7 separate regions of the Homo sapiens genome follow, and all the other regions are linked to region 5. The links are contacts of gene promoters, found by promoter capture Hi-C in blood cells and fetal thymus (Javierre and others, 2016). All regions are on one chromosome and are shown on one strand. The core of a region is centred on a gene start or on the middle of the fragment in contact, and the rest is flanking DNA. Distances in the headings are between cores, read along the strand shown. Region 1 overlaps TRAM1 (translocation associated membrane protein 1). Region 2 has its middle 50 kb from the start of TRAM1. Region 3 overlaps LACTB2-AS1 (LACTB2 antisense RNA 1). Region 4 overlaps XKR9 (XK related 9). Region 5 holds the start of SLCO5A1 (solute carrier organic anion transporter family member 5A1). Region 6 holds the start of LOC105375890 (a long non-coding RNA gene). Region 7 overlaps LACTB2 (lactamase beta 2).

The links. Contacts are between HindIII fragments. The CHiCAGO score rates a contact against its expected background, and 5 or more counts as called.
Region 1: a fragment that was not itself captured here is called in contact with the fragment with the promoter of SLCO5A1 in region 5 in 1 of 17 cell types (total B cells); the score reaches 7.5 in total B cells.
Region 2: a contact is called between a fragment that was not itself captured here and the fragment with the promoter of SLCO5A1 in region 5, in 1 of 17 cell types (neutrophils). The highest score is 6.0, in neutrophils.
Region 3: a contact is called between a fragment that was not itself captured here and the fragment with the promoter of SLCO5A1 in region 5, in 3 of 17 cell types (total B cells, naive B cells and neutrophils). The highest score is 8.8, in total B cells.
Region 4: a contact is called between a fragment that was not itself captured here and the fragment with the promoter of SLCO5A1 in region 5, in 1 of 17 cell types (total B cells). The highest score is 6.0, in total B cells.
Region 6: a contact is called between a fragment that was not itself captured here and the fragment with the promoter of SLCO5A1 in region 5, in 3 of 17 cell types (naive B cells, total B cells and neutrophils). The highest score is 7.0, in naive B cells.
Region 7: a fragment that was not itself captured here is called in contact with the fragment with the promoter of SLCO5A1 in region 5 in 1 of 17 cell types (total B cells); the score reaches 7.3 in total B cells.

The regions. Positions count from the first base shown.
Region 1 is chr8:70,594,639-70,597,538 of GRCh38, reverse strand. TRAM1 (translocation associated membrane protein 1) reads left to right here. Exons shown (of 11, transcript NM_014294.6): 5 at 1,218-1,276. Among named protein-coding and RNA genes, the nearest start is that of TRAM1, 12 kb to the left of the region's middle. The HindIII fragment of the contact is 170 bases long and covers 1,489-1,658 here.
Region 2 is chr8:70,556,957-70,559,969 of GRCh38, reverse strand. No RefSeq gene overlaps it. Among named protein-coding and RNA genes, the nearest start is that of TRAM1, 50 kb to the left of the region's middle. The HindIII fragment of the contact is 2,079 bases long and covers 211-2,289 here.
Region 3 is chr8:70,613,518-70,616,565 of GRCh38, reverse strand. All of the region lies in intron 1 of LACTB2-AS1 (LACTB2 antisense RNA 1), which reads right to left. Among named protein-coding and RNA genes, the nearest start is that of LACTB2-AS1, 6.5 kb to the right of the region's middle. The HindIII fragment of the contact is 4,125 bases long and covers 1-3,048 here.
Region 4 is chr8:70,673,745-70,676,727 of GRCh38, reverse strand. XKR9 (XK related 9) reads right to left here. Exons shown (of 5, transcript NM_001011720.2): 2 at 1,829-1,910. Among named protein-coding and RNA genes, the nearest start is that of XKR9, 5.9 kb to the right of the region's middle. The HindIII fragment of the contact is 837 bases long and covers 1,281-2,117 here.
Region 5 is chr8:69,833,239-69,836,274 of GRCh38, reverse strand. SLCO5A1 (solute carrier organic anion transporter family member 5A1) reads left to right here and starts at 1,297. Exons shown (of 10, transcript NM_030958.3): 1 at 1,297-1,421. It overlaps SLCO5A1-AS1 (SLCO5A1 antisense RNA 1), which reads right to left and starts at 2,163. Exons shown (of 4, transcript NR_186568.1): 1 at 2,082-2,163. RefSeq lists a silencer at 1,032-1,141 and enhancers at 1,462-1,541, 2,972-3,036. The HindIII fragment of the contact is 8,160 bases long and covers 749-3,036 here.
Region 6 is chr8:70,533,770-70,536,591 of GRCh38, reverse strand. It overlaps LOC105375890 (a long non-coding RNA gene), which reads left to right and starts at 647. Exons shown (of 3, transcript XR_929030.3): 1 at 647-1,378. The HindIII fragment of the contact is 3,569 bases long and covers 1-2,822 here.
Region 7 is chr8:70,639,364-70,642,357 of GRCh38, reverse strand. It overlaps LACTB2 (lactamase beta 2), which reads left to right. Exons shown (of 7, transcript NM_016027.3): 5 at 1,308-1,456. All of the region lies in intron 1 of LACTB2-AS1 (LACTB2 antisense RNA 1), which reads right to left. Among named protein-coding and RNA genes, the nearest start is that of LACTB2, 28 kb to the left of the region's middle. RefSeq lists an enhancer at 247-296. The HindIII fragment of the contact is 1,320 bases long and covers 773-2,092 here.

The sequences.
Region 1 (2,900 bases), core at 324-2,823, 760 kb before region 5:
GCCACCACGCCCAGCTAATTTTTGTATTTTTAGTAGAAACAAGGTTTCACCATGTTGGCCAGGATGGTCTCGAACTCCTGACCTCGTGATCCACCCGCCTCGGCCTCCCAAAGTGCTGGGATTACAGGCTTGAGCCACCAAGCCCGGCCTTACTTTTGTATCTTATAGTGGTTTACAGATACCTCTGTATCAGCAAAAAGCGTAGGTTACATGAGTTGTAATGTTCACAGTCATTTCCTCCTTTAAAAACAGCCCCAGTGTTTTCCAAGCTTCTTAAATGTTGTATAACTTTTCAGTTATGGCAATCAAAACCTTTAGTTGTATCACTCTAACTAATGAGAAAAAGAAAGGCAGTATTTGCTTTAATATTAGTGATAACAATCCCTTAAATTTATATGGTGTTCCATAGTTTACATACTTTTGAGTTTGTCAGACACATAATTCTTTCTAATCACTGTATTAGAGATGAATAACAGTGAGTTTTCCAGGGTAAAGCACTTCATGTTGGAAGTAGACTAAAACTCAGCTTTTTATTCCATTGCTCATTCCATTTTACTGTGCTGCTTTAATAATACTTTATAGGTAATATGTAAATTTTAGTTTAAAAACTATTATACATTTTTTTAAAAAAACATAAAAGTTATACTTCTGTGGGAAAATACTCTTACAAAAATCACTTTAGATTTTATTTATTTTTTAATCTTTTTTTTTTTTTTTTTACATATGCAGTAATTCTCACTGAGTAGATCTGATTATCTAAGAAAAAAATTGGGGCAGTATTTTATTGACGTAATTCCATAAAACTCGGTAGCACCCTGATCCTTTGTCTCCTGTCAGATGCTACAAACTTTTCCTGAAATCTTCTGATTACCTAAGACAAAATTCTTCTCTCCTGGTCACTGTTGTGCCTCTTATTGGTGGTTTTATGTTTGTTTGTGTACGTGTATTTTTATTCTATGGGATTGAAAGATTTTTTAGGGCCAGGAATTATGTCTTACCTGATTCCATATCTCATTTCTATCATTGATTTTCATTTTGCTCAAGTAACCAACTCAAATTGGCTTGAAAATAACTAAAACAACTAAGGATTTTGACATTAGTGGGTTCTTTGCAACCTGGTATGGGACCTGTAAATGTTTGAGAAATGAAAGTAATGCCTTATTTTCCAAGAAGTTTGCATTATGCTCACAGGTTAATTTTTATATCTTCTTTCTTAGGAAAACTACATCTCAGACCCAACTATCTTATGGAGGGCTTATCCCCATAACCTGATGACGTAAGTCATTTTTAGCAGCCCTTTCTTTGTTAAGGACCATGGTCATGTCACTATTAATCAGAATTCATTCTTGTTATTCTCTTTAGGACCTTAGGCAAATGCATAAAATAGATGAAAATATGTCTTTGACAGTCCCACTGCCGTAAGAAAAAAAAAGCTGTGTACCTTTTTTTAATGTTTCTATTCTAATCTTTTCAACATCTTTGTAAGCTTGAGACAACTGATTTTAACATAACTTAATTTGGTACTCGCTTCTTTTCCCTTCTTTTCACTCATACTTTCTCCTTTTTATGACTCCATCTTCTCTATATTTTTGCTCCTTTTCTTTGTCCCCACCCCCTGTCTCTTTTCACATCTTCCTTTCTTTCTCCTATTATAAGCTTCTTGAGGTTAGGAATTGTTTCTTTTTTATTTCTCTAGTCTGTACAGTGCTGCTGGGTTAAAGTGCTCAGTGGTTACCAAGACGTCTGAATAATTCATTATTCGAGCCCAGCTCTAGTACAACTATTCTATATTAATTTTCCTTGCTATTTTAGCCTGTATTGGTCTTTTGTATCCCCAAATTTGTCATTTTGGTAGAAATTTGATGTAGTGTCTATATATTGTTTTGATTGTTCTATAATTGTCTCATTTTTGTAAGTCTTGTATTGTGCCCATACCCACTAAGACTATATGTGCCTTGGTAGCGGTAAAAACTATTTTATATCCTTCATTGTGCCAGGTACATTGCAAGTGCTTGTCACCTACACAGTATTTAGTAAATACATTGTGATGTGAGAATTGGAGAAGGGAGAAGATACGAAGGAAAGAAGGGAATAACCTGACTGTGGGTATTTTAAGTCTAGCAGTAATACCCACTCTACTGAATCATACTCTGATTTCTAAAGTTTTATTAGTTCAACGAACTTTGTAAATATTATATTTATGTGGGACTGTATTCTCTCCACCCCGACCACCAAGAAATTAGGTTGGCTTTGTGTTTTCTATTTTAGACTTCTGGAGGAGAAGGAGCAGGGAGAATAAAGAGGAAGCAGAAGGGCTAGAGGGATATAATGTCAAGAGGAGAGTATTGGTTCTAGACTGATTATGATATAGCTCCTGGAGAGCCCTTGTGTGCCTTATTCTGACTGTCTTTAATCCTAGCTCTGCCTCCATTTATTTGGGGCTTTCTCCATGTTCCAACCAGGTACAGTTACCATATTTGCCTAAGAAAAAAAAAAAAAACAGAGGATATTTGAAATTGGGATTATTCCAGTTTCAGGTGATTATTAATCTATGAGCCTTTGCTTTTGTGTCAGTCTTTTTCCCCTTCTTGTCTTGATGAAACTGTATAGACATGTGGGTTATGTTTTCAGTAGCTAACATGACATACTAGTCAGTATTAATGAACTAATAGGGGCTCTGACTCCTCCCAACTGGCTTACATGTCAATAGCTTTCTGCAGATAGTATCTTTGCCTGCTGTTTAATCCAGGGGTCTTGTCCAATGGTGGGACTGTCACAGGGAGATGGGGAAAGAGGTTGTTGAAGAGTTGTTTAAAGGTGCACAGATATTGTATGGAATGATGACACAAAGGTAGTTACTTAGTATATCCTGATTTCCAGTATTTGTTTACTTTTTTTTA
Region 2 (3,013 bases), core at 1-2,500, 720 kb before region 5:
TATTTTTAGTAGACACGGGGTTTCACCTTGTTAGCCAGGATGGTCTCGATCTCCTGACCTCATGATCCACCCGCCTCGGCCTCCCAAAGTGCTGGGATTACAGGCGTGAGCCACCGCGCCCGGCCAAAAGATTATTAATGTAGTTGTTCAAGGCTGAAATCAAACATTTTGGGTATCCTGAAAACAAGCAAATAAAAAATTTAAGAAGCTTAGGTCCATGTTATACTCTCTTTTGTGACTATTAGTAACTTAACTTTGACCTAATTTAAGTTTACTGAAGAAAACAGTCATATTTTGAAGATCCAAACTTCAATCAACTCAAGTGATAAATAGCCTTATTGATTTCAGTTATTATGAATAGTTACACAGTGGTAAGACTAGCTAACCAGAGTTCAAATCGTGACTCCTCCACTGATCAGCTCTGTGTGATTAAATGTCTGTACCACAGTTTTCTGTGGTAATAACACCTACTCCACAAGATATGAACATGAACTGTGCATAGCCCTATGCCTGATGTTTATTAAATGTTAGTTGCTAGCTCATAAGGTTGTGACAAACACAGCAGTAATTGTCACTGCTGTTACCACTTTTCTGTTTTATGTTGAAGTTTCACAACACTGTTCAGCATTCATGCCATGCAATGCAAGCACAGTGTTCCACGACTCTACTCTGGAGCAGATGGGCCAATAAAGTTGCAAGAAATGTTCAAGCCAACATTACAGCCAGCAAAGTTACACTGAATCATTGGATGACTGTGCAGGCATGCTTCACCAACACAAACATTCATAAATCAAACATCCAAGTCTGTGCTGAATCATTTATACCTATGTGATATAATAATTATAAAAGCGAGTTGTAGGTATGGTTTCTAAGGAATGACTTTTTAAAGTCAGATATCTATGGTTTATGGGGCCATATTTCCATTTAGCTGATGTATATAACTTCTAGAGAATTTTTGGCTGCTTGGAGTTGCCTAACCTTCCAGTGTAAAGAATCAAACTTCATTAGGTAAATGAGAACGTTACAACACAATGTTTATCATGAAGTTTGAACTGATATCATAAAATGTCCTAGAATTCACATTTCTCCAAGTGGGCTGGAAGGCCTGGATGTGACAGTACATGGGGCATCCACATGTAAGTGTGGGTCATGTGTGAAAGAGTGAAATCTGAAGACTAAGGTACATACTCTGTTGTGTCCTTGCTGATTGCCTTCTGAACTAATCCTTTTCTCTTCTTATATCAAATATAAGAAAATACGGCCAGGCACGGTGGCTCACGCCTGTAATCCCAGCACTTTGGGAGGCCGAGGCAGGTGGATCACCTGGGGTTGGGAGTTTGAGACCAGCCTGACCAACATGGAGAAACCCCGTATCTACCAAAAATAAAAAATTAGCCGGGCTTGGTGGCGCATGCCTATAATCCCAGCTACTCAGGAGACTGAGGCAGGAGAATCGCTTGAATCCGGGAGGTAGAGGTTGTGGTGAGCCAAGATTGTGCCATTGCACTCCAGCCTGGGCAACAAGAGCGAAACTCCATCTCAACAACAAAAAAAAGAAAACACAGTAAAGTTACTTATGAGAACAATTATAATTTACCTAGCTCTGTCGCTCAGGCTGGAGTGCAGTGGCGCCATCTCAGCACACTGCAACCACCACCTCCTGGGTTCAAGCAACCCTTTCACATCGGCCTCCAGAGTAGCTGGGACTACAGGTGCACACCATTACGCCCAGCTAATTTTTGTATTTTTTATAAAGATGGGGGTTTCACCACGTTGCCCAGGCTGGTCTCAAACTCCTGCGCTCAAGCAATCCACCTGCCTCAGCCTCCCAAAGTGCTGGAATTACAGGTGTGAGTCACAGCACTTGGCCTATAATTTAATTATCAATGCAATTTAATCAACCTCATCTAAGTCACTAGTGACCTCAGGATCACCTATAGTGGTCCTTTTCCATTTCAAAGGAATGACAACATACAAACAATGTGACACCGGTTATTTGTCACTTAGGTCTGAAGGGAAAATATCTATACTGTATATACTAAGTAAATGAAAAATTAAGTATGGTTTTTAAGAAGTAAATTCAATTCTGTAGAATTAAGGCCTTGAAGACTACCAGGAATATGTTACAATGATTGGTGGTTGTATCCATTTGTTTTGCATTGCTATAAAGGAACCCCTGGGGCTAGGTAATTTTTAAAGATAACAGGTTTATTGGCTAATGGTTCTGCAGGCTGTACAAGAAACATAGCATCATCATCTGCTCAGCTTCTCATAAGGCCTCAGGAAGCTTTTACTCCTGGTGGAAGGTGAAGGGGAAGTAGATGTGTCACATGGTTAGAAGGGGAACAAGAGAAAGAGGAGGAAAGTTCCAGTCTCTATAACAACCACATCTCACACAAACTCATTACTTTGGGGAGGGCACAAAGTCATTCACAAGGGATCCACCCCCATGACTCAAACACCTCCCAGTAGGCCCCACCTTCAACATTGGAGATCACATTTCAACATAAGATTTGGAGGGGACAAATACCGAAACTATATCAGTGGCTTACCTACACCCTAATACATGTAGGAAGCTTTAAAAAATTCAAAAGAGATGTGAGGCTGGGTTCAGCTTCATCTTCAAAGAGAAATTCCATAACTGCAGAATCATCAATCATTCTCTGGGAACAGAAAGCCCTAGTTGAAACCTAGAAGTCATTTCTTTGTTGATATGGTGAGTCAACTCTGTCTCAGTGCAGAAATACTGGTTCGAAGGAATGAGATGGAGAAGGACAGATAATTGTTAGCAAAAAGAAATCTCTTTCTGAAGAGATAATACTCTGCAGTGATTTTCATTGAAATTTACAAAACATCTCTAAATATTGGCCTTTATACAGTAAGCTCAGGCTTATTCTGCTATTATATAGCAACTTAATTTTGCATGACCTGTGGTGGCGGGGTTTTTTTTTAATTTGTTTTTATGAAGGATCAAACAGAATAAGGAATTTTTGTTTGTTTGTTTGTTTTGAGA
Region 3 (3,048 bases), core at 245-2,744, 780 kb before region 5:
CTTGGGAGGTTCTCTTGAGCCCAAGAGTTTAAGGCCAGCCTAGACAACATAGCGAGGCCCTGTCTCAAAAAACATCAAAAAGAATGGGTTTGGCAGGCATACAGATACCTGGACCTATGACCTTGGGCAAATTACTTAACATCTCTGAGCCTCAGCTTCTCTGTCTTTAAATAAAGACAACAACACCTATTTTATAAGATTTATGTGAAGACCAAATGATATATGTAAAGGCAAAATGCCTGGAATTTAATAAGCATGTAACAAACATTCGTTTCTTACTTTTCATCAATTTGTCCCCAAGGAGAGGTTGAAATCAAACAGTCCCATTTTAGTTCTAACTTATTTCTATTAGGTAATTTCTTGTACCTACTTTCACATCATCTCAGAACAGGTTTTTCATTCTTATACATGTCTTGTAAGGCCACATAAACACAACCTCATTGAGGGCAAAGATCATATTTCTGTTCTTTTATATTTCTCATAATTACAGCAACCTTGTACCACAAATTTTCCTGGATAGATCTAATCCCAAAAAGCTGCCTTCTGTCCTACAGTCATTAAAAGAATCCTGAGAATTTTAGGATCCAGGCTATGTTTGCCAAAGTCTTAACTTACTTGGAATGTGGCCTCCAGAGCTGAACACACATAAGAAATCAATCTGCCTGAGGGGTCCCTGGTGGGATAGCTCATCCCTGTAATCCCAGCATTTTGGGATGCCAAGGCAAGAGGATTGCTTGAGGCCAGGATTCTGAGACCAGCCTGGTCCCCATTCTAAAACAAAACAAAACGAAAAATCTGCTAAGGGAGGCCTCCAGAGCCCATGTGTCTTGGTAGGACCACTTTCCCCACCACCATGACCTACGCTTGGAGAATTTAATGGCAGCCACCTTTCACTATAAACTTAAGAGGCTAATCCTAAAAAAGAAGCTAAAATTATTATTAAACCTCCACATTCCCCTAAAAGACCTCAGGATCATTCTGTAATGCTTCAAAACTCTTTCCACCTTAGTCACCTCCAGAGTCAAACCTCCATTGTTATCCATCATCACCACAATCTCCTCCCCACAAAGCTCTATTCATCCTTTTATTTTGCTTAAGCCAAAAGCCCCTTCGCAGCCCCCAAACTCTTGCAGTGTATCCCCCAAAGCTCCAGGTGTGCCATCTACCAAATCCCCAACACCCTCTGCCTCTTTCTGAATGTTTTCTTCACCTTCTCGCTCAGAAACCTGGAGGCAGCTCTAACTGAAAACTGAAACCTGCTTCCCTGGAGCCTTCTCAAGAGGTGGCTGTTTCTTCCCTCCCACGCACCACATACCACAGAGCCTAGGGGTGGAATGGGTGTCTTTCATGGTCCTCATTGCTGCTGACAGACAATTCTCCTCCCTTGCTCAAAAACCCCAGCTTTTCTGGAAGTCCATGCCCTGAAACTACACCACCCACTACCCTCCTGTGGCAATCATCTGCCATCCTCTCAGGCTCTTCCTCATTTGCAGCAGATGTTAGTGCCCAGCTCCCTCACTGGCTCCCTTTCCATTCTTCTCCTTCACTCATTCTTGGTGATTTAGCATCCATGTGCTGAGCACCTTAGCCTCCTACTGCCTTGACTTCTCACTCTCAAAGCTCTCCTCCTCCATTCACCTCAGCTACCCACTCCCACCTTTCTACCCTGTGCATCTCATTGCCAGTGACTGCACAACCTCTGAAATCATTTCCAGCATCCCACTCTCTCACCACTTCCTCCTCAGCCAGCCCCCCTCCACAACAATTCTTCAGCCCCATAGGTGCCTCCAATTCAGAGGCCCTAGCACTATTTCTCTGTCCTCTGTCTCTGTCAGAGAACTGGCAAGGAATAGATGGCCCATTCAAAAGAATTTAGCTGGAGAGCACTTAATGAAGGGCTTATTCACAGAGGAGTAGCAGGTTGAATGAACCAACAAGGGATGGTGAAGTATGCGGGGAGTAAGAGCATGGGAAGCTATTACAACCAACAGCCTGAAGCGGCGGGGGAGAGAATGAGGTCCCTGGAGCCCACTTAGAGCTGAAACAGTAACAGAAAAGCTACCTGACACAGGCAGTGGCCACAGGAGAACAAACATAGTCACTGTTGGAACCATAGTAAGGCAAGGAGGGATGATGGGAGTATAAAGAAATCCCCAAACCCTCTGTTTTTTGGCTAGTGTCTTCCACAGACTTCCAGTCCCATTCCAATGGGAAGTCAAGGGCGAGGGAGCCCCAGTACTGCAGTCTGCAGACATTTGCCTTTCACAGCAGAAAAGGGTGGACTCTCAGGGCAGAGGGTGACAGTATAACAAGCATGACCACCACCTCATGGCCTTCACTTCATCACCCCTGCCCTCACCCTTGCACATCCTCCACATCCTTTGTCATACTGGCCTGGCAAAGCCCAATTCTGCCTTCTCCATACCTGTATCCAAACAGGGAGATATGCCTGGAGAAAATTATGTGGCTCTGCTTACTAGTCTCGCTTTAAATGTATGGCCCCAAATCTCAAGTGGGCCCTGCTGTCTGATTACATCCCTTTAATCTACTCACCCTCCACAGTTTTCCTCCATTCTCTTCTCAAATGTCATCACACTATCTCCACTCCTGATGATTTTGTTTCCTATTTTACTGAGAAAGCAGAAACAATCAGAAGCAGACAACTTCATCTTGCCATTATCAGCCTACCCCTAAATTCTGCCCTCTATCTGGTTGCTGTGGGCACCCTATCTTGTCACTGTGGTCAGCTGTGCACTACATGCCATCAACTCTGAGCTGCTCAAGGACTTTGCTTCTGCAAGCAACTCCTGTAGAATAAATCTTTCTTATAGATCATTCTCATCTGCATGCAAATACATCATAATATAGCTCATCCAAAAAGAAAAGCAAAACCCTTCCCTACACCTCTCTTCACCACGTGCCCATTACTCCGCCTTCCCTTGCAGGGAAATCCCCTCAAATGAGTTGCTTATACTCATGCCTCCATCTTGCCATTTCCCATTCTCTCTTGAACCCACTCCAGTCAGCCATTTGTTTCTACCATTTCCA
Region 4 (2,983 bases), core at 450-2,949, 840 kb before region 5:
ACACTAGCAGTTTTGAGTCAACTTTTACAAGATGGAAAGAATAATTTCCAAGAAACAGAAACTGTTACTGGCAGAACATTAGATGCAATAGATTAATCTAATATGGTAATATCCATATTCCTAATTTAGTCAGGCAGAACATAACACCAAGTAGAAGGAAACCTACATAGCAAGCTAATACATACGGCGGATCTGATAAAGAGAGCTGCAGGTCTTTCAATTGTTGAATAACTTGTATTAAGAATAGTTCATCTCTATCTCTATGGTTGATCACTATTCCAGTACCACCTTAGGTAAAATAATGCCACCTACAAAGTTTGGCTTCATAGGGGACTTCTTACACTTACTGACTTAATAGGACAATGATATAATCTGAATATATGTCCCTACCAAATCTCATGTTGAATTGTAATCCCCCATGTTGGAGGTGGGGCCTGGTTGGAGGTTTTGGGTCATAGGGGTGTATCTCTCATGGTTTGGTGCTGTCCTCACGATAGTGAGTGAGATCTGGTTGTTGTAAAGCATTGCATCTCCCCCACTACTCTCTTTTTTGCTCCTGCTCTCTCCACGTGAGACACGTGCTTCCTCTTCACCTTCTGCCATGATTGTAAGCTTCCTGAGGCCTCCCCAAAAGCAGATTCTGGCACTTTGCTTCCTGTACAGCCTGAAGAACCATGAGCCTATTAAACTTATTTTCTTATAAATTACCCAGTCTCAGGTATTTCTTTATAGCAATGCAAGAATGGCCTAACACAGAAAATTGGCACCAGTAGTAAAGTTTTGCTATAAAGATACCTGAAAACATGAAAACAGTGTTAGAACTGAGTAACAGGCAGAGGCTAGAAGAGTTTGTAAGACTCAGAGAAGAAGGGAAGATGAGGGAAAGTTTGGAGCTTCTTAAAGGTTGTGACCCAAATGCCGATAATGATATGGACAATGAAGTCCAGGCTGCTGATGTCTCAGATGGAAATGAGTAACTTATTCAGAAGTGGAGCAAAGATCACCCATGTTATGCCTCAGCAAAAAGCTTGGCTGGATTGTATTTGTGCCCTAGAGATCTATGGAAGTTTGAACTTCAGAGTGATGATTTAGGGTACCTGGCAGAAGAAATTTCTAAGTAGCAAAGCATTCAAGACATGGACCAGCTGCTTCTAACAACCTATGCCCAGATGTGGAAGCAAGAAAATGACTGAAAATTTGAATTTATATTTAAACAGGAAGCAGAGCATAAAAGTTTGAAAAATGTGCAGCCTGGCCAGGTGAGAGAGAAAGAAAAAGCTTCTTCAGAAGAGGACTTTAAGCAGGCTGTACAGCAACCACTTGCTAAAGATATTTGCAAAACTAAAAGGGAGCCAAGTGCTAATATCAAAGACAGTGGGTTCGAGTGATTCTTCTGCCTCAGCCTCTCCAAGTAGCTGGGACTACAGGTGCACACCACCAAACCCAGCTAATTTTTGTATTTTTAGTAGAGACGGGGTTTCGCCATATTGGGCAGGCTGATTTCGAATCCTGACCTCAAGTGACCCACCCACCTCAGCCTCCCAAAGTGCTGGGATTACAAGAATGGGCAACTGCACCTGGCCCTCGTTTCTTATAAATTACCTAGTCTCAAGTATTTCTTTACAGCAATGCAAGAATGGCTTAACACAAACGGTTTCAATCCAATTCCAAATATCAACCTAGCTATGTGGCTACCTGGCTGCGAGCCGAAATACGTAACTTTTGCCCACTGTACAACTATCTGAGATAAAGCAGATATTTAAAGAAATTAAAACTAGGAAACTTTCCCTTGTCAACCAAATATAACACATATAAAACATAGACTTACTTGTCAAATATAAAAAGCCATCTTTGACTCAAAGTCCCTTCTGGAAAAATCTTCATCTTGTGAATATTTTACTTCTTCTTCACTAAAAACAAGTATAATTAAAGGATGTGTAAACCTTTAAGATCGAATACTAAAATGAAACTGAAATCACCTGTTAGTCATATGTGGCATTTTCTAATCTAGTGATAAGAGTCTGTGTCATTGTGAATACAGTACACCCTTTTATAACTATCTCATTGAGAGGAAGAAATAGCATAGGTCCTTTCATAGGCTGACTAGGCTCCAAGCTTTCACTGTATTTGTCAAATAAGTCAAGAAAATACAATTTGTCTCACAACATATCCAAATGGATAACATGTCATGTTTGAAAAGGAGGTTCTTAAATTTGAAGTACTCTAACAAAGTATCATAAACTCAGCCCTACCTACTTTTCAACCTTATACCTTCTCAAATCTTGTGCCCCAAAGAGCATATGATTGTTGGTCTGTATTCCCAAAATAAGCACTACTTTTCTTCCATTTCCAAGCCTTTGCTCAAGGTTATTTACTGCTGTCTAGAATAACTGCCATCTATCTGATGAAATTCTGTCAATCCTTTAAGAATCAGCTCAAAACCCACCATCTTTAGGCTTTCCCAGATCATCCCAGTATGTTTCTCCCCTTTCTCCTTGCAATCTCATCACTTCAGCTGTACTTCTCTTCTAGTATTTACCCACATATGCTTTTTTTTAAGAGACAAGGTCTTGCTCCATCACTCAGGCTGGAGTGCAGTGGCACAATCATAGCTCACTATAACCTCGAACTCCTGGGCTCAAGCACTCCTCCAGACTCAGCCTCCCAACAGTGCTAGGATTACAGGCTCATGCCACCATACCTGAACCCATATATACTTTAAAAGTATCTCCTTCATGGTTATGACCCTCTAGAAAGCAAAGATTATCTTATTCATTTTTAACATGCCCTCAATATGTCTACAACATTACCTTGCATGTTGTAAGTAGATAATAAACTATTGTAAGTGTAACTGAACAGAACGTGAAAAATATTTGATCTGATTTCTTGGAGAGGAACTTAAACTTCAAGTCACATTTCTAAACATATTCACAAAGACTTAATTTTGTATCTTTTTTTTTTTTGACATGGAGTCTCACTCTGT
Region 5 (3,036 bases), core at 48-2,547:
TTTTTTTTTTTTTTCAGTTATCATCCTGTTTGTCTTCCCTGCAGCCTGTACACATCTGACCCTTCCCTTCTTACAGTCGTCTGCTCTTTTGGCTTTTCTGATGCGTCCCACACCTCTCTGACCCTTGCTTCCAGTCTCCTTCCTTTGGCTGTACGCTGTCCTCCTAGATTCTTCACAATTTGGATGATCTTCCCTATTCATTCCATCCTTTCTCATGCCACCTTTGGGCTGATGACTACTGATCAATATTCCTAGTCCAAACCTCCTGTGTGTCCAGTGGCTTATGGGACACGTACACTGGGATGTCCCCCAAACATTTCAAACTCAACACATGTAGATGAGAACAATCTTTCTCCTAAAGCATGTTTCTCCACCTGTGCTTTTATTGGCTGTCAGGCACGTAGTCACCCAACTTGGTGCTAGAAACTTGGGAGTCATCCTACCTCGGCTGGTTTTCTTCTCTTGCAGATTGCATCAGCTGCCCAGTTCCCTCCTCTCCATGCCCCCTGCCAATGCCTCATCACATTTTGCTTTCAGACTGCCTCCCAACTCACTTCTGTGCCCGCAGTGTGGCCTCACATCTGTCTACCTGTCACTGCCAGAGCCAGCTCTCTGGTGAGGAAGTCAGAACGTCATTGCCCCCACATTATTGACAGTACACAACTTAGGAAACCCGTAGTGCCCCTTTCTACTCAGCCACTCTTGCAGTCTGGTCCTCTGCCCCATCCCTGCAATCTTCTAGGAAGCTTATCTACCTATTGACTGGCAGCACCATGCCCCCGTGCCTCTGTTCTTCCTGCTGCGTGGAAATGAAGGCTAATGGATATTGGCTACTCCAGTAGCAGGCTGCATAGATGTACCACGTTGTTTTAAGCCATTTACATGAGTATTTCCCCCACAAGCCAGAGGTTTCCTCCGACCAAGTATCTTGTCTTGTTTATCTTTGGTCCCAGAATCTACTATGGTGAATGAGACATGGTGTGTGCCCAAGGCACGGAATAAACGATCAGAAATGATTTATTTATTCAGAGTGGGCTGTCAGCTTCAGCCGCTGACTTTTCTAGAGACCGGCTCCCTCGGGGCTTCAGCGCTCTTGGGCCCCCGCAGCCACGCAGGTGAAGGGCAGCGGGGTGGCTGGCTGTGGGAGGGCTGGGCTGGGTGGCTGCCCTCGCGCCTGCGCCCTCGGCTGCTCCTCTCCGGGCGCGTCTCTGTGCGCGTGTGTCTGTTTGGAGCGGAGGAGAGGCTTGGGTGACAGGCGAGGGGTGGGGGGAAGAGTTCAGCCTGAGTCACAGTCTCATTCACTGATTTCTCTTCGGCTGGACGGAGGCTGCCTCCTCACGCGGCTCCCAACTATTCCCGTAGCTCAGTGCCCCCCTCCCGCCGCTCTACTCAGCCAGGCAGACAGACTGACAGACTCGCTAGTGAGTAGCGGCGGCTTGAGCGCCCGGGCAGCGCGGCGGGCTGTCGCCGGCGGTCTTGTCTTCCCACGGGCTCTGTGTGTGTGTGTGTGTGTGTGTGTGTGTGTGTGTGTGTGTGTGTAGGATGTGCGTGTATGTGATGTGCGCGCAGGGGGTGTCCCTGGGATTCCACGCCTGCTCCAAGAGCTCCCTGCCGGGATCCGCGTGTCCATCCGAGTCTGCGATGCTGTGAGGGCGCTCGCCTAAGCAGGGGGTTCGGACGCCCCCCGCGAGCGGCGAGAGTTTGCTGGGATTCCCCGGCTCCTCACGCAGCGGCTGGTGGGGTTCCCCGGGAAGGCGCCTGGGTAAGGCAGCGGCGGGGAAGCCCGGGATTGTGAGTGGCTGGCAGGCCGGGAATCTGGGAGCGGGTTTGGCCCAGCACAGCCGAGGGAGATGCCGGAGCGGCCACCCTTGGCCGCCCAGCCTCTCTGCCTTTCTCCCTTGCCCTTCCTCCTTTCTTTTCTCAGCAGCATCACAAAGGCGCGCTGCAAAATGAAACCCAGTGTAGTGAAGCTCGGCTGTCTCCCACCTGGTGCATATTCCGCCCCCCGTCCTTGCCCCAGGCTGGAGGAGTGGAGTGGGGGTCCCCAAGATTAGGGGCGGGGTCTTACCACGGGGGCACACCTGTTTTCGATTCTTGCTGAATTCAAGCTGGGTGCGGGATCGCGAGAGAGGTTCCAGTACGCCGGTGTGTGTGTGTGTGTGTGTGTGTGTGTGTGTGTGTGTGTGTGGCCGCGCACGCGCACACGCTCCCCAGGCCCACGCTAGCGGGGTGCGCTCAGTCAATAGCACACCTCCCCGCCGGCCCGCGTGCGCCCAGCCGGCTCCGTGGGCTCCTCGCGCGCTCTCTGACAGCGTGCCGGGATCTCTTTGTTTGGTTGTGGCTTCCCTAGCTCTCGGCAAAGCAGACGGATTTTCGGTTTCGTTTGATACCGCGCTCTGGGACTTAGTGCGGGCCACAGCCTCGAATGCCCCTGGTATTTGTAATTGAAGAGTTCTTTCGGTCAGGGGGTTATTTTTGGTGTTGGGAATAAAGAGGCAAGCATGTTGACCTTTTTGCTGCTGCCTTCGGCTTTGAATGTGTGTCTCTGGTGGAGCAGACAGATTCAAATCTAGTCGCGCACACGTGCCAACGCACACCAGTGTGCACACACATTTCTACACACGTAGTTTACCCCCACCTTCTTTTTTCCTTTTAGAAAAATTGGGACAGGGAATACATTGTGTGTCTGTGAAAAAGTTTCCTTTGTTCTTTTGGGCATTTTCTATTTTGAGTAATGGAGTAGGAGTACGGAAAGGCTGCAGTTAGTTCACTCGATTAAAAGACACTGCCTCTGAGTCAGAGCTGCCAGGTTGATAATTATTAACATATAAAAGCAAACGCAATGTTTAAGGCAGAAGGGGCGGGACGGGGGCAGGTCCGCGGCAGACAATGAGGGAGAGTCTCCGCCGACCGCCTGCTGCTTATTGTTCCGGGACTGGAGACTGCAGCCGGCTGCTGCCTAGTCCTCCGGGGCTCCGCTCCTGACTAGCTCCTCCGTCCCTCTAGGGACGGTTCGGGGTCACCTAACCCTGGTCC
Region 6 (2,822 bases), core at 264-2,763, 700 kb before region 5:
GAACAATAATGTTAACCACAGAGGAAAAGATTGATAAATTGGATTTCATCAAAATTGCGAACTTCTTTTCATCAAAATGACGAGAATAAGAGGGCAAGTGACAGAATAAAGGAAATTATTTGCAATATATTTATCATATAAAGAACTTGTATTAATCAATAAAGACAGACAATCCCGTAGCAAATGAACAAGACACTTCACGAAAATGATATTCCAATGTCCAATAAATGTATATAAAAGTACTTTATTTCCTTATCAGAGAAATGCATACCATTTCAATGTTATTACAATTACAATCTCACCAGAATGGCTAGAATTAAAAGGATTGGCAACACAAATGCAGAAGATGCCAGCAACTGGAACTTTTTTTTTTCCCCAGATGGAGTCTTGCTCTGTTACCCAGACTAGAGTGCAGTGGTGCTATCTCAGCTCACTGCAACCTCCACCTCTCAGGTTCAAGCAATTCTCCTGCCTCAGCCTCCCAAGTAGCTGAGATTACAGGCACTCGCCACCACGCCCGGCTAATTTTTGTATTTTTAGTAGAGATGGGGTTTCATCATGTTGGCCAGGCTGGTCTCGAACTGCTGACCTCATGATCTGCCCACCTCAGCCTCCCAAAGTGCTGGGATTACAGGCATGAGCCACAGCTCCCGGCAGCAACTGTAACTTTTGATGCAGGATTTTTCTTCTCGGTCACTTTGCAAACCGGGACCTCCGGCCAGCGATGCCCCACCCGCGCCCTGCTCAGCCACGCTGGCATGCCCCAGCTCGCCTGTGTTATAGCTTCTATCCGCGTTCGGCGGTTCCCAAGCTCTTGTACCCACGTTCGGCGGTTCCCAAGCTCTTGTACCCGCGTTCGGCAGTTCCCAAGCTCTTGTACCACGCCTGAGAAGAATGAGGATACGTTGGACATTGAAGGGTGAAGAGGGCGGAGAAGAATTTTATTGAGCAAGGGAACAGCAATTAGCGGAGAAGGGACTCTGGGGGGTGGTCGCCCACCCCCTTAGTCGGATGGTTTTTTCCTCCCCTCGTGGCTGGGTCACGAGCTTTTTATAGGCTTAGAATAGGGGAGGGGCAGGTCATAGGTAGTATTGGAAAAGGCAACGCTTGATCGGTTAAAACGCATTATTTAGAAATAATTAATCAGGAAAGAGCGGGGGCAAAAAGGAACAGAAATACTCAGCCTGTGTCGCGGGTTTCATCTGGGACCAGCAGTTCAGTGTTTTTGGCTGGAAGGTGGGGTTTCACCCCATCCTCCTGGGCATTTAGCAGCCTCCAGCCGCTCTCACTTTCGTGTGCCATGGACGAGATGATAAACTGAGATTGTAGAGGAGTTGCAGTTCTTGGCAGTGACCAGGTCTAGAGAACGACCACTGAGGTAAGTGACTGAGGTGGGTAGATGACAAGGGGAGTTAAAGGTGCTGAGAGGCCTGGGTACAGAAGCAGTCATCAGCGTGGATATTAAAATCACCAGGAACAAAGGCTGACGTGGTTTCGGAGAGACTTACAGAAAGCTAAAAGCTAAAATGATGGAGATGTGAGGGGCTCAGCTCAACTGATGACGGTATCAGTAGGTGTGGTAGACGGTGGATGGTATAGTCTGAGGACAGGAGGTGAAAGCTAGGGGAGCACAGGGACTTTCTGGTCCACCACCATCCTCGTCTGTCTGACCAATACATCTCTCTGCTGGGTTTCTATGTTATCTTTTTCTCTTTTAAAATTTAATTACATTCCATCTCATAGATTTCAATCGTTGATTTACTTATTCCCTTTCCCAACCACTCTATGAGAACACCACGTCTAATTTGATTTTGTGTTCCCGAGGCCTCGCTCATTGGAAGCACTCAAAGATTCTTTGTTGGATGTATGAATGAAGAACTTGTTAAGTGCACCCGCAGAGTATACGTGGTTGGCTCAGCCACGCGAGGTTCAGTGTTAAGCACAGTCCACTGGGAGGCAGTGTTGTGCAGTGAAAAGGTCTCAGCTTTACGAGACAGAAGGCCAGATCTCCAACATCAGTTCTGCCACCTTCTATCTGCCTGACCTTGGGCCACAGTCTCCTTAAGACACAGGCAAAATGGGAATACTGAGAAAGAGAGTCATTTTCTTACAGGAGTACTGTGAAAATTAAAGGTAATTTAGGTAGATTTAGGTACAATATCCGCATATAGTCGGTGTATTTATCATAGGGTAACTTGATTGCTTTCTAATAACAGTAAGCACGATTGCAGGTTAAGTCTTCCAAAGAAGTGTTTTTCATAATCATGCTGCAAATGATTCTCACTCTAAAATTGTCAGCCCAATTCTCACCTCTCTCAGAGGCCTTGTGGTTGGATGCTTGAGGCTCAGAGGTTCTCAGGGCTCCATGAGACTGGGGGCTCCACTGGGGATCAGGCAAGTCCAAGACTTAAGGGACTGGCCCTGGTTCAGCTGCATGTGCATTAAATAGATTTTTGTGCACTGGCCTGGGAAACAAGCCACCATCTATAATTCTGTTTCTATGGGGAAAGGCTTTCTGTGTTCCAAACAACCGACTTACTAATGAACTCCTGGAACACAACCTATGTGTCGATGGGGACTGGCCGACTGGGTTTTCATGGCCGAGTCAGCCGCCCAAGCAACTGCACAGTGTTGAGCTAATTATAATGGGTTCTCTACGGTGACTAATCTAGCTGTGGTCTCCACAATTGAAGTGGAATTTTGAAAAACTGGAGAAGGTTCTGCAAAAAACCACAAAGATGATTAAAGGACTTAAGGAAAATCTAGTCTGGTCTCTACAGTTTTAAGAGGACTGTAGAAACTATCCATGTAATCATCACTCT
Region 7 (2,994 bases), core at 183-2,682, 810 kb before region 5:
TGAGTTCCTACTGCTGGGGGAATAGAAAACATACGGTAGAGCTGGGCATTTAGATTTATATGATGACATTAAAGGATTGCGGGCTGATAGCTTTGGGGGGGTTTGTTTGTTTGTTTTGCTTTGTTTTTGCTAAAGACAGCTATTTTTAAAGCGAAGAGGGCAGACGTTGAGTGAATTCACATTCAAGCTAAGCTAATGAGAGGCTACCTAGTAAAGATTCTAGAGTGCTTTAGTGAATCCAGTGAACTGGCTTACTAGCACAGCAGTTGTTTATATGTAAATTATGCTCTGTAGCCATAGCTACCATATATTAAAGTCTTCTAGCCATCAGGTTTTGTGCAGGGGCCTTTACAGTTGTCATCCTCACCAAAACCCATGTAAAGTAGGTAGTGGTTTCCTCACCACACAGCAGAAGAAACAGCTTAGAGAGATTCAGATACTTCCTCATTTATTAGCCACACAGCAAATAAATGATAGGTCTGTGTCTAACCAGATCCCGTAATAGGTTAGCCTGCTTCTGGATATTTTGTTCTCAAATATTTAAGAACATCATTCTTGCAGACTTATATAATATATAATATTAATGTGTACTGTCTTAAAGGGGAAGTAAATTATAGTATAACTTAATCTGGGTTGTCAAAATTTCTGACATACAGAAGCCTATACATAGGATTCTTAAAGTTTTACTGTGGGTCTTGTGAATTTTTAATAGAGCTTGGTCATGTACATGAAACTGCTTTTTACATTGTCCTTTTGCAGTATTTTATAAGCTTAGCCTAATGGTCAAGAGCACAGAGTGGTTAAGAGATCCTGTCAGAATCCTAACTCCACCCCTTCTTAGCTATGTAACTGTGGACGGATTATTTACCCTCCGTATGTCTCAGTTTCTACCATAAGAAATGTGTAATAATTGTACCTACTTCATGGGATTCTTGTAAGAATAATGTATGTTAAGCATTTAGGGCAGTGCCTAGCACATAGTGAGCACTCCATAAACATTACCTATTGTTATTATTGTAGTTGCTATTTTTATTGCTGTGTTTTATTGTTAAATTTCTATTCCATATTTTTAATGTACACAATATTTTCTATAGATTGTATTTGCTATAATTTTCTAATTGGGGGGTATTGTATATAATTTTTAAATCTCTTTCACCTGTATAGCTTTCCAAATAGTTCATATTTGACATTTAGTATGCTTTTTCAATATATCATATGAATTATTTTTAAATAGAGTGAGTTAGCTTCTGTTGTACTTAGTATTTTTTTATCTGACTGAAGTAACTCTTATAATTATTTTAATTCAGGACATGGCCCAGTAATTCATAATGCTGAAGCTAAAATTCAACAATACATTTCTCACAGAAATATTCGAGAGCAGCAAATTCTTACATTATTTCGTGAGAACTTTGAGAAATCATTTACAGTAATGGAGCTTGTAAAAATTATTTACAAGGTAATTTTCAGTTTTCTTATTTGTATGTAGCCACAAATTTATTAGAATTATCTATTTAGTAGACTATAGAAATGATAAACTTATATCCCAGATCAGAAGTTACGCCACTTTTCTAGATTTGAGACCAGCAGCCTAAACTTTCTACAGTGCTAAAATTAAACAAAAACTGGCCTTAGAGAACAAAGATAGCCATTTCGAGCCATCATTGAACTTTATATACTTAACTATGTAGGAGAAACTGCCTAACTATGTAGGAGAAACTACCAACAGCCTGATGATTACATTTTGTAATAATTTTTGCATTATTCTAGCCATCTTGATTATCTTGTGTCCCAGCCTGCACCAAGAGAGGAGGGGTGACCTGCTAGACACAAATATTGGAATGTTAACAGTGAGAAGTAGTAGCAAAGCAGTGAGAAGTAGTAGCAATGCCAAACAATGGAGAAAAAGAAAAAAAAAATCAAAGAACATGAGTAAAATAGTATGTAGGGAAAGAGCCTTACACCTCACTGGCCTCTGAGAATATCACTGTATTGACAGCACTATATAGCAGTCAGTATAATTCAGTTTTTCAGCAAATGTTTATTAGATGTCTGCTGTGTAGGCAGCATAGCTTAGAGGTTAAAAATGTAAGCTTTTGTGGCCAGGCGTGGTGGCTCACCCCTGTAATCCCAGTATTTTGGGAGGCTAAGTGGGAGGTTTGCTTCAGCCCAGGAGTCCGAGACAAGCTTGGGCAACATAGTGAGACCTCATCTCTACAAGAAATTTTTTAAATGAGCCAGGTGTCATGGAACATGCCTGTGATCCCAGCTGCTCGGGTGGTTGAGATGGGAGGATCACATGAGCCTGGGAAGTCAAGGCTGCAGTGAGCCTACATCGCACCGTTGCACACCAGCCTAGGTGACAGTGCAAGACTGTATCTCAAAAACTTTTTTTTTTGAGATGGAGTTTTGCTCTTGTTGCCCAGGCTGGAGTGCAGTGGCGCCATCTTGGCTCACCACAACCTCTGCCTCCTGGGTTCACGCGATTCTCCTGCCTCAGCCTCCCGAGTAGCTGGGATTACAGGCATGTGCCACCATACCCAGCTAATTTTGTATTTTTAGTAGAGATGGTGTTTCTCAATGTTGGTCAGACTGGTCTCGAACTCCCGACCTCAGGTGATCCACCCGCCTCAGCCTCCCAAAGTGCTGGGATTACAGGCATGAGTCACTGCGCCCGGCCCAAAAACTTTTTTAAAAAAATTAAATTTAAATTAAAATATACAAAGATATTACCCTGTAACCTAATAAATAAATTACAGGGCCAACTGTCTGTAGCATCATGAAAACTTTCTAAGAATAATTTTACATTTATTCATTCATAAAATATTAATGTGTTTCTGCTATGTATTATTATGCTAAACACTGAATATTCAGTAATGAACAAAACAGATACTGCTGCCAGGCCGGGCATGGTGGCTCACGCCTGTAATCCCAGCACTTTGGGAGGCCGAGGCGGGCGGATCACCCGAGGTCAGGAGTTCGAGACCAGTCTGGCCA